2 separate regions of the Homo sapiens genome follow, and region 1 is linked to region 2. Evidence: promoter capture Hi-C in human tissues and cell types (Jung and others, 2019). All regions are on one chromosome and are shown on one strand. Each heading gives the region's core, a stretch centred on a gene start or on the middle of the fragment in contact. The rest is flanking DNA. Distances are from core to core; before and after follow the strand shown.

Evidence for each region. The method cuts DNA at HindIII sites, captures the fragments that hold promoters and counts their contacts. A contact is called where the count stands out against the background at its distance.
Region 1: a contact is called between a fragment that was not itself captured here and the fragment with the promoter of ISL2 in region 2, in 1 of the 25 tissues and cell types used here (lymphoblastoid cells).

What each region holds. Positions count from the first base shown.
Region 1 is chr15:77,427,614-77,432,497 of GRCh38, forward strand. All of the region lies in intron 1 of HMG20A (high mobility group 20A), which reads left to right. Among named protein-coding and RNA genes, the nearest start is that of HMG20A, 9.2 kb to the left of the region's middle. RefSeq lists an enhancer at 2,737-2,836. The HindIII fragment of the contact is 8,562 bases long and covers 1-4,884 here.
Region 2 is chr15:76,334,373-76,339,190 of GRCh38, forward strand. ISL2 (ISL LIM homeobox 2) reads left to right here and starts at 2,401. Exons shown (of 6, transcript NM_145805.3): 1 at 2,401-2,569; 2 at 3,406-3,595; 3 at 3,880-4,142. The coding sequence starts at 2,512. RefSeq lists enhancers at 2,136-2,430, 2,242-2,741, 2,435-2,484, 2,910-3,721. The HindIII fragment of the contact is 8,596 bases long and covers 1-4,818 here.

The DNA.
Region 1 (4,884 bases), core at 1,227-3,726, 1.1 Mb after region 2:
AATTCAGGACCCTTATACATGTTACCCCATATGGCTTCTTTAAAGGATATGGATTTTTGAGGATCCTAGAAATCAAAATTCTCTAATTTTATTCAGCTCAAAAAAAAATTTTATTCAGTGCTGCTGTCCTTATTTTCTGAATAATATTCAGATTCAGACCACACTGAGCCATAATTCCAATTCCCACTTGACTAACATTTATGTAGTATTGTGCTAGGCACTACATGTTATCTTAATTCTAATAATTTGGCATTTTTCCATATGAGAAAAATAAGATTTAGAAAGATTAGATTACTTGCCCAAAATCACTTAACCAGTAAGTGGTAGAGACAGGATTTGAATGCAGATCCTCTAAGGCCAGTGTTTATTCTCATACTGCATGATCCCTCAGTATCACTACTAAAATTTACTGGAGGATAATGGAAAGTGGAAAATCTGAACTGGAACTTGGGACAATCAAGCACTGACTTACCTGTGTTCATAATGAAGCATTTAGCAGAGATGTTGTTTGTTGTTTTGTTTTGTTTTTACTGGGGAGGCTATAGTACATAAACAGAGCGAAAGATCTTGGTATGGTTAAACCCACATTTTCAAGGCCTTCTGTGTTCTCCCTGATGATCAGGTACCTACTACCCCAAAATCTGTGATGGTAACAAAGAAGGAGGAAGGCAGCTGTAGAAAAGCAACGGCCTTTGGGTATACCCAGTAAGATTTATGTGATTGTAGAAAGAGCAGGCAAATGGCTTGGCCTTCAGAGAATCCCACAAAGTAAAGTAACCTTTTAAAATAGTAACTTAAAGTCTGACATAAGATTCTTAACAGGATATTCATCACAAGATAAGATATTCAAAGCATAGCGTGTAAGACATTCAAAGCATATCAGCAAAAAAGGAGAGATTCCTTCATTTTTATTGAAGTATGGTATACTCACAAAACAAATTTAATATCAGGAATATAAAACAAGAGATACGATGTTCCAATTCTGGCTTTAGTCGGATATTATAAAATTTAATCCCAATTTATAGATAAGGCAATTCAAGGCTCGAGATTACACACCAAATAAGTGGACTCTAGGCTGGGTGTGGTGGCTTCTGTAATCCCAACACTTTGGGAAGCCAAGGCAGAAGGATCGCCTTAGCTCAGGAGTTTGGGACCGGCTTGGGTAACATAGTGAGATGCTGTCTCTACAAAAAAATAAAAAATAGCCAGACATGGTGGTATATACACATGTGGTCATAGCTACTCAGGAGGCTGAGGCCAGAGGATCGCATAAGCCCAGGAGTTCAAGGCTGTGAGCTGTTATCGAGCCACTGCACTCCAACCTGGGCTACAGAGCAAGACTCTGTCTCAAAAAAAAAAAAAAAGGAGGGGGGAGCCTCTAGAACATAGGCCTTTAATCTGTGTGGTTGTTTTGCAATTTATATGTATAATTTTTAAATAATATGTTGGCCGGGCACAGTGGTTTGTATCTATAATCTCAACACTTTGGGAGGCTGAGACAGGAGGATTGCTTGAGGCCAGGAGTTTGAGACTAACACAGGCAACATAGCAAGACCCCATCTCTACTAAACAAAATAATAATAATTTAATATGGTGGGTTTTTTTGTTTTTTTTGTTTTTTTGAGACGGAGTCTTGCTCTGTCTCCCAGGCTGGAGTGCAGTGGCGCTAGTGAGCTCATGCAATTCTCCTGCCTCAGCCTCCCAAGTAGCTGGGATTACTAGCGCTTGCCTGCTTCAAAAGAAATGATTTCCAGCACCCCATTTTTTCTTTTCCAGCCTCAAAATTCATATCTCCTTTTTTTCCCCCATGTCCACATGTCCTTCATTCCTATACTTCATAGCTTTAATTCCTGTTCTCTTGATACAAACCTTCATGTTTGTTGCTTGATGGCATCATAATTATCATAACTTTTTGGCTTAATAACAGTAGCAGTTATATCAACAAATAATAAAATGTTCATACTTTTGAGCCAATAATTCCACATATAGAACTTCATTCTGAGAAAATACTTTAAATAAGAAAAATAGTTAAAGGCACAAAATGTTAATAGCACTGATATCTATACTGTCTAAAACTTGAAACCTTCTAAATATTCAACAATATAATAATGCCTAAGCAAATTATTGCCTATCTACTCAGTGGGCTGTAAGACATTCATTTTTCACAATAGCGTCTTTAAGAATACATTGAAAGATGTTGTAAGAATGTTTTTGCAAAAATGAAAAGGAGAAACATCAGAAGAAAAAGTAGAAAAACTAATGTGATTGGTGTCTATTTCTGAAGCATTTATATTTTCTATATAATAATAATTTACATTTACTGACCACTTACTTGTGTCAGGAACAATACTCAAGCAACATTATAGAAGCAACAATTTGTAGTTATTGAAAACTGGTGTTCTAGAATCAAATCTGAGCTTCATCACTTACTAATATGTGGTCTTGAAAAGGAAATGGAGGATAACTATGTCTACATTAAATTATTAAATCTATATAAAGTATTTGGCACATACAAAACCTACAATAAGAATGTTTTTGTTATCAGACATTTTATAAATATGTCTCATTTAATCTTCACATCCTCACAGTAACCTCATTAGATAGTGTTAACGTTCATTTTACATGAAAGAAAATTGAAACTTCAAATGTTTAAATACTCTAGGTTAAATAACTTGCCGAATCACTTAACTAATAAGCAGTAGAGTTTTTATTCAGAGCCCAAGCTATGGTTTCCACTTATGACTCTGAGAGATGAGGTTGCTGCAGACTAATGCTTTTGCTAAGAACAGGAAAGATGAGAATTAAAAAGAAAAGTGAAGGCATCAGAGACCTGCTGAGGCATCCAGGACTTAAGAAACCACAACCATAGAACCAAAGGAGCTTCAGAGAAGTGGGCTGATGTTCCATGCTTCTCTTTTTTCCTAGGAATTTGCTAATTCTTAGAGCATGACAAGATGCTGTGAAACTTAGCAGAGGGTTTCTTCTAAAAGCAGAGAAGCTGTTAGTTTTATGGGGCGGAGCAGACAAAACTTGGATTTTAGAGATCTCCAGGTAGCTAGTTCTTGGGTCAAGATCCCTAGAGAAGGACAGTACCCAGAAACTTTTTTAAAACTTGTTTTCCCCTCACAGTGTTTGCTAGGCAGAGTCTAGAACTGTAAGAAAGTTAATTTGTATTGCTTTAAGCCAATAGCTTTGGATAACTTGTGACAGCAACAATATGAAACTATTACAGAGACATGAGGAAATGATGAAGAAGTCTAACATACATATGACTGGAGGAGAGAAAGTTAGAAGCAGTAATATTTTAAGAGACAGTGATTGAGAATTTTCTAAAACCGATGACAAATATCAAGCCATGGATTTGAAAAGTGCAAGAAACGACAAGCAGAATAAATACAAGGAGTACCACACTTTCATTCTTCATAGTAAAAATAAAACTGTTGAAAGTAACCAGAGGAAAAAAGACACATAATCTTCAAAGGAACAATTAGACTGACATCTGACTTGTCAACAGAAATAATGGGGGCCAGAAAACAATACAATGTAACTTTTTTGTTTGTTTTTTTGCTTTTACCTACTTGGTTTATTTATTTTTTATTTTATTTTATTTTATTTTGAGATGGAGTCTCCCTCTGTCACCCAGGCTGGAATGCAGTGGCGTGATCTCAGCTCACTGCAACCTTTGCCTCCTGTGTTCAAGCGATTCTCCTGCCTCAGCCTTCCAAGTAGCTGGGATTACAGGTGCATGCCACCACACCCAGCTAATTTTTGTATTTTTAGTAGAGACAAGGTTTCACCATGTTGGCCAGGCTGGTCTCGAAGTCCTGACCTCAGGTGATTTGCCTGCCTTGGCCTTCCAAAGTGCTAGAATTACAGGCATGAGCTACCATGCCCAGCTGGTTTTTTTTGTTTTTTTAATTGACAAAAATTATATGTATTTATCATGTACAGCATGATGTTTTGAAATATGTATACATTGTGGAATAGCTAAATTGCGCTAATTAACATATGTATTACCTCACACAATTTATGTGGTAAAAACACTGAGCATCTACTCTCTTAGCAATTTTCAAGAATATAATACATTGTTATTAACTATAGTTAACATGTTGTACAATAGATATCTCAAACTTATTCCTCCTATCAAACTGAAATTTTGTGTCCTTTGACCAACATCTTCCCAGCCCCACCCCACCCCTGGTAACTACCATTCTACTCTATACTTCCATGAGTTCAGGTTTTCTAGATTCCACATATGAGATCATATGGTATTTGTCAGTGCCAGGCTAATTTCACTTAACAGATAATGCCCTCCAGGCTCATTCATTTTGTTGCAAATGACAGGATTTCCTTCCTTTTTTTAAAGCTGAATAGTATTCCATTGTGCGTATATACCACATTTTCTGTGTTCATCTGTTGATGGATACTGAGGCTGATTCCATATCTTGGCTATTGTGAATAATCTGGCAATAACCCTGAGAGTGCAGATATCTTTTCAACATAGTGATTTCATTTCCCTTGGATATATTCTCAGAGAATGCAACCTTTAAGTTCCTTAAAGAAAATAACTGCCAATCTAGAAATCACGATGGCAATTAGAACACATTTACAACAGCGTGATTATGAAAATACATGTGAATCAGTTAAAGATATACTCAATGAAAAATTTATAGCCTTAAATGCATATATTAGAATAGAAAAAAGTAAAAAATCAGTTATCTAAATACCCATCAAGGTAGGAAAAGAACAGCAAATTAAACCCAAAGTAAGTAGAAGAAAGGAAATAATAAAAAAATAGAAATCAATGAAATAGAAAACAAATTGTTGGCCAGTCGCAGTGGCTCACGCCTGTAATCTCAGCACCTTGGGAGGCCGAGGTGGGTG
Region 2 (4,818 bases), core at 1,151-3,650:
CTCCCCATCCAGACACACGCAGGCAGGGTGGGCAGAGGCTCCCAACATAAAGATACAGCCACAGTCATAACTGTCATAATTAACACATATGGAGCACTTACTCTGTGCTAGGTATTGCTCTAAGCCCTTTCCAGAGAACAGTTTATTTAATTATTATGTAATAGAGATAGCTACAATTATTATACCCCCATTTTACAGATGAGGAAACTGAGGGAAGGAGAATTAAAATAAGATGCCTGAGGTCACACAGGTGTCCTGGCACAGCCTCAGGCACAGATACCCACCCCCTCGCTCTTGTCCCCCATTTACATAAACACATTCATTCAAACGCAGCATCCCCCAACCCCTGACCTGCCCGCACACACTCAGGGTGAGCGCTCTTTGGGGGACTGTTGACTAAAGACGCAAGAAATGGCCTATTGGCCAACGGGTGGTAAACTGTAACAAGAGCCGGTCCGGTGGCCCGGCGCGGTGGCTCACGCCTGTAATCCCAGCACTGTGGGAAGCCGAGGTGGGCGGATCACGAGGTCAGGAGTTCGAGACCAGCCTGACAAACATGGTGAAACCCGGTTTCTACTAAAAATACAAAAATTAGCGGGGCGTGGTGGCGCTCGCCTGCAATCTCAGCTACTCAGGAGGCTGAGGCAGGAGAATCGCTTGAACCCGGGAGGCGGAGGTTGCAGTGAGCCGAGATCGCACCATTACACTCCAGCCTGGGCGGCACAGCAAGAGTCTATCTCAAAAAAAAAAAAAAAAAAAAAAAAAAAAAAGCCGGACCGGTGAGAAGACTAGACCTCCTAAAGGTGGAGGCGGAGCTCAAAAGCCGGACGCTACTGGACGAGGCTTAAAGCGCTCGCCCCAGCGCGGGGCCGGTGAGGAACGTTCACCGTGGACCATGGTCGAATAATGTTAGCGTGCACTCGGGGCCTCGCCCTAGCCTTCTGCAAAGCCTCGGCCTGCGCCCTCGGCTGCATCCGTTTCGACGCCAACCAACCTCATGCTCTTAGTAGAACGGCAGTAGCGACCGCGCCCTCAGGCCCACAAGCCCGAAGGTCTGGGCAGGGTCTGGAATGGCGGTGGAGACACTTTATCCGCAGGCGTTTCACCTCGCGCCCCACCCAGGCGCACACCAAGTTCTTGGTACTCCTTTTAATGGGAAAACAAGAACAGACACCATGGTTGGATAAATGTTATTTATAATTCATGGGCCGGTCTTTGAACCCTTTCAAACAAAACCCACAGCGATTTCTTTGAAAGAATGCCTGGACTGTGCTCAGAGCTCTCAGATTTTCTCAGGACCAACGAGCCGCCGCCTCGCAGATACCACTGTAAATTACCCAGCGCCTTACGTTCGTTTCTGATTATTTGCATTGCAGTGGGTTTGTTAATGAAGGACAAGAGTTTAGAAAAATCTTTTATTTTGGAAGTTGGACACGCAATCGACCCCAGCAGTGTTCCTAAAAGGAGCTATGCCATTTGGATGGGGGAAAAATGAGGGGGCGGGGAAGTCCATGTTACATTTAAAACAACAACAGCAACAAATTAAAAGCAAAACAAAACAACAAAAAAAAGGAAGTGGAGCAGGAGGAGGAGGTGGTGGTGGAGGAGAGGGAGGAGGGGCAGCAGCAGCGGCAGCAGCAGCAAGGATGGAGTCAGGACCCGTCCCAGTCCCGGGTGAGCGCTTTTGGATCTGGGTTCTGGCTCAACCCACGTAATGCCCCAATCTAAAGTTTTCTACGTGTGTGTGGATAGGAAAGTCTAAATAGAGTTTATCAGAACCCAGGTGGTCATTCTCTACACTCTCTCTAGCTTGGACCCGAAGAACAAAGGCACATGAGAGGAGAAAGGTGACCAGCTGGACGATGACGGTCACGTCCAAACGGATCCCCCTTGTCCTCGGCTCTCTCGTCCTGAGAGTGGGTTTAATTTTTTTTTTTTTAATTTATATAAGAAGGGAGCTCTTAAAGGAGAGCCATCTCCACCCTCAGGTATCCATCACCCAGCTCCAGCGCGCCTGGGAAAACCGCCCCGAAAGTCCAAGAGGAAGCTCAGAGTTGTAACGGCCGCGGAGCCAGCTCGGCGGTGACGCAAGGTCCAGTCCAGATTGCCAGGCCCGGGGCATGAGAGAGGATCCTTGTAGGTTTCGGAGGTGGGGGGGCTGCACTCCATTGTTCACTCCGGGCCAATCAGGGTTGGCCCACTTCCTCCCAGCCAATCTCCCTTCACCCCCAGCCTCCAACCCAACCCACCCCGCCCATCAGCCCCTGGATCCCCATCACCTCCCCCGCATCCCCGGCAGTTCTGGGGAAGCTTCGTGACGCCACAGGTCCCGCCCCCAGCTCCGGCCCGGGGCTAGTGCGTGTTGACGTCATGCTGCGTGCGGGCCGGTGCGGAATCGCTCCTTCAACTCCGCGGGGCAGTAGGAGTTAGTTAGCAAAGAGCCGAGGCCGGGCGCGCGACCCTCGTCCTTCTGCCCCTGGCCGCACACTTTGCGCACATCTCTTTTTCTGCATGGTGGATATTATTTTTCATTATCCTTTTCTGGGTGCTATGGGTGATCATTCCAAGAGTAAGTATTTCTGTGTGTGTGTGGGGTGGGGTGTGTGTGTATGCTTAATATGCAAAATTTCTAATGCAGAAAAATGTTTAGTGGATTCTACAAGTGGCTTCTATTTGTCAGAATAGTTTAGGAGAGGAAAAACGAATGCATGTCTCCTGCAGGACTGCTTATCTTTGGGAATCCTGTTGTTTTATTTTATAAGTAAACACTATTTCTCAAGCCGGCTAGGATGACTTCGGGCTGCGAAATCTGCTTCTGTTTTGCGCAAAGGCAATTAGGTTTGATTTAGGGATGTGGGTTTTTTTTTTTTTGGTTGTTGTTTGTTTGCCTTTCGGTTTTTCAAAGCTAGGAAGCTTTCTTTCGCTTGCTCTGGGATATTTAAACTAAGAAATGTCTGAGAGGATGAGCGGGGACTGCCGAAAGACGATGTGTCTGTGTTGGGATAGGAGGCAGCCGCTGTGAGTGGGAGTGTGTGAGCGGAAATGCCAGGACAGCACCGTTAGGTGTTGATATCCAGGCGTCCGCAGTGCCTGTGTATTTACTCTCTTCTTAGTTTCGTGTTTGCGTTTAGTTTCAAGACACGTCGACAAAACGACTGTCATTAATGAATGTAATAACGAAATATTTGGGGTGGGGGACAGAAGAAACCTTCAGCAATCCACAAGATACTGGTTTTTCGTTTCCAATGCCCTGGACCTTTAGAGAGCTCATCATCTTTCCTTATGGTCGCAAGTCTTGAAAGAAAGAGCAAGAGAGCGAGCGGGTTGGGTTGGGGCTGGAGTAGCCGAGGCCGGCCTGGGTCCGGGCAGTCAGGCCTGACGCGGCCCCGCGCCCTTCCCCGGCAGAGAAGCCCGGGACGGCCATGTGCGTGGGCTGCGGGAGTCAGATCCACGACCAGTTTATCCTGCGGGTGTCGCCCGACCTCGAGTGGCACGCGGCCTGCCTCAAGTGTGCCGAGTGCAGCCAGTACCTGGACGAGACGTGCACGTGCTTCGTGAGAGACGGGAAGACCTACTGCAAGCGGGACTATGTCAGGTGAGGCCGGCGGGAACGCGGGCTGGGCCACCGCGCGCAGGGGCCGGGGCCGGGACTGGGGATGGCGGCCTGCCCGCGCGCCCCGGCCCTGCCCAGGGAGAAGGCCATCCGCATCCCGCACGGGTGCCGCAGCGCTCCCCCGGGCCCGGGAATGCCCGCAGGCGGGTCACCGCAGTCTCCTGGTGGCCACAAAGTGTCCTGGGCGCGCGCCGGAGCCGTAGCAGCCAGGGAGATGAGGGCGGCCGCAGGCCCAGCGCTGACACCGCCGCACCTTGGGCCCGCAGGCTGTTCGGCATCAAGTGCGCCAAGTGCCAGGTGGGCTTCAGCAGCAGCGACCTGGTGATGAGGGCGCGGGACAGCGTGTACCACATCGAGTGCTTCCGCTGCTCCGTGTGCAGCCGCCAGCTGCTGCCTGGGGACGAGTTCTCGCTGCGGGAGCACGAGCTGCTCTGCCGCGCCGACCACGGCCTCCTGCTCGAGCGCGCCGCGGCCGGCAGCCCGCGCAGCCCCGGCCCGCTTCCCGGCGCCCGCGGCCTGCATCTGCCCGGTAAGCGCGCCGGGGCCTGTGCCGGGGTGAGCGGGGTGTATGTGCGTGCGTGTGTGTAGGGGTACGCTTGTGTCCCTAACGAGAAGTTGTCAGTTGTGTGTGGTTCCGTCTGCCGGGATAGTGTTTTTCTGTATCAGTGCGGAACTGTGTGCTGGGAACAAGGCTGTGTGTATTCTCGTGTGCTCGGGAGAAACTGCGTGTGTATGAGTGTGTGAGCACGGAGAATTGTGCAGAATCGTGTTCTCCATGACCAGGAACATGCAGGGCACAGTGCTAGGAGCAGAAGAGTGGATGACAACAGGGAATCTTAAGTGGTGTCCGTCTTGGGGCTTGTATTAGGAATTTCTTGGAGGAATATGTGTTATTGTCAGAGGGTAAGGTTTGCCCAGGGGTATGTGTGTAAGTAACACAGCTCCAAACTGGGAGCTGGGCAGGAGCTTGGTCAGCCAGGAGCCAAGAACCCAACAAAGAGGGGTTTTTGCCATCTTGTTTTGAGGCCCAGTTTGATGAACAATTTAGCCAGGTTCTTCTGGGGGAGGGGGAGTATCAATGCATAGTGGACTGTCACTGGAATATTCTGGGTCCTAATCAGCAGCTGCCCAGAGATGGGGTCTGAGTGTATAATGGGCAGGTACGGCTGAACAGAAACAGAGGTGCCTCCACCCCAGGCAAGGCA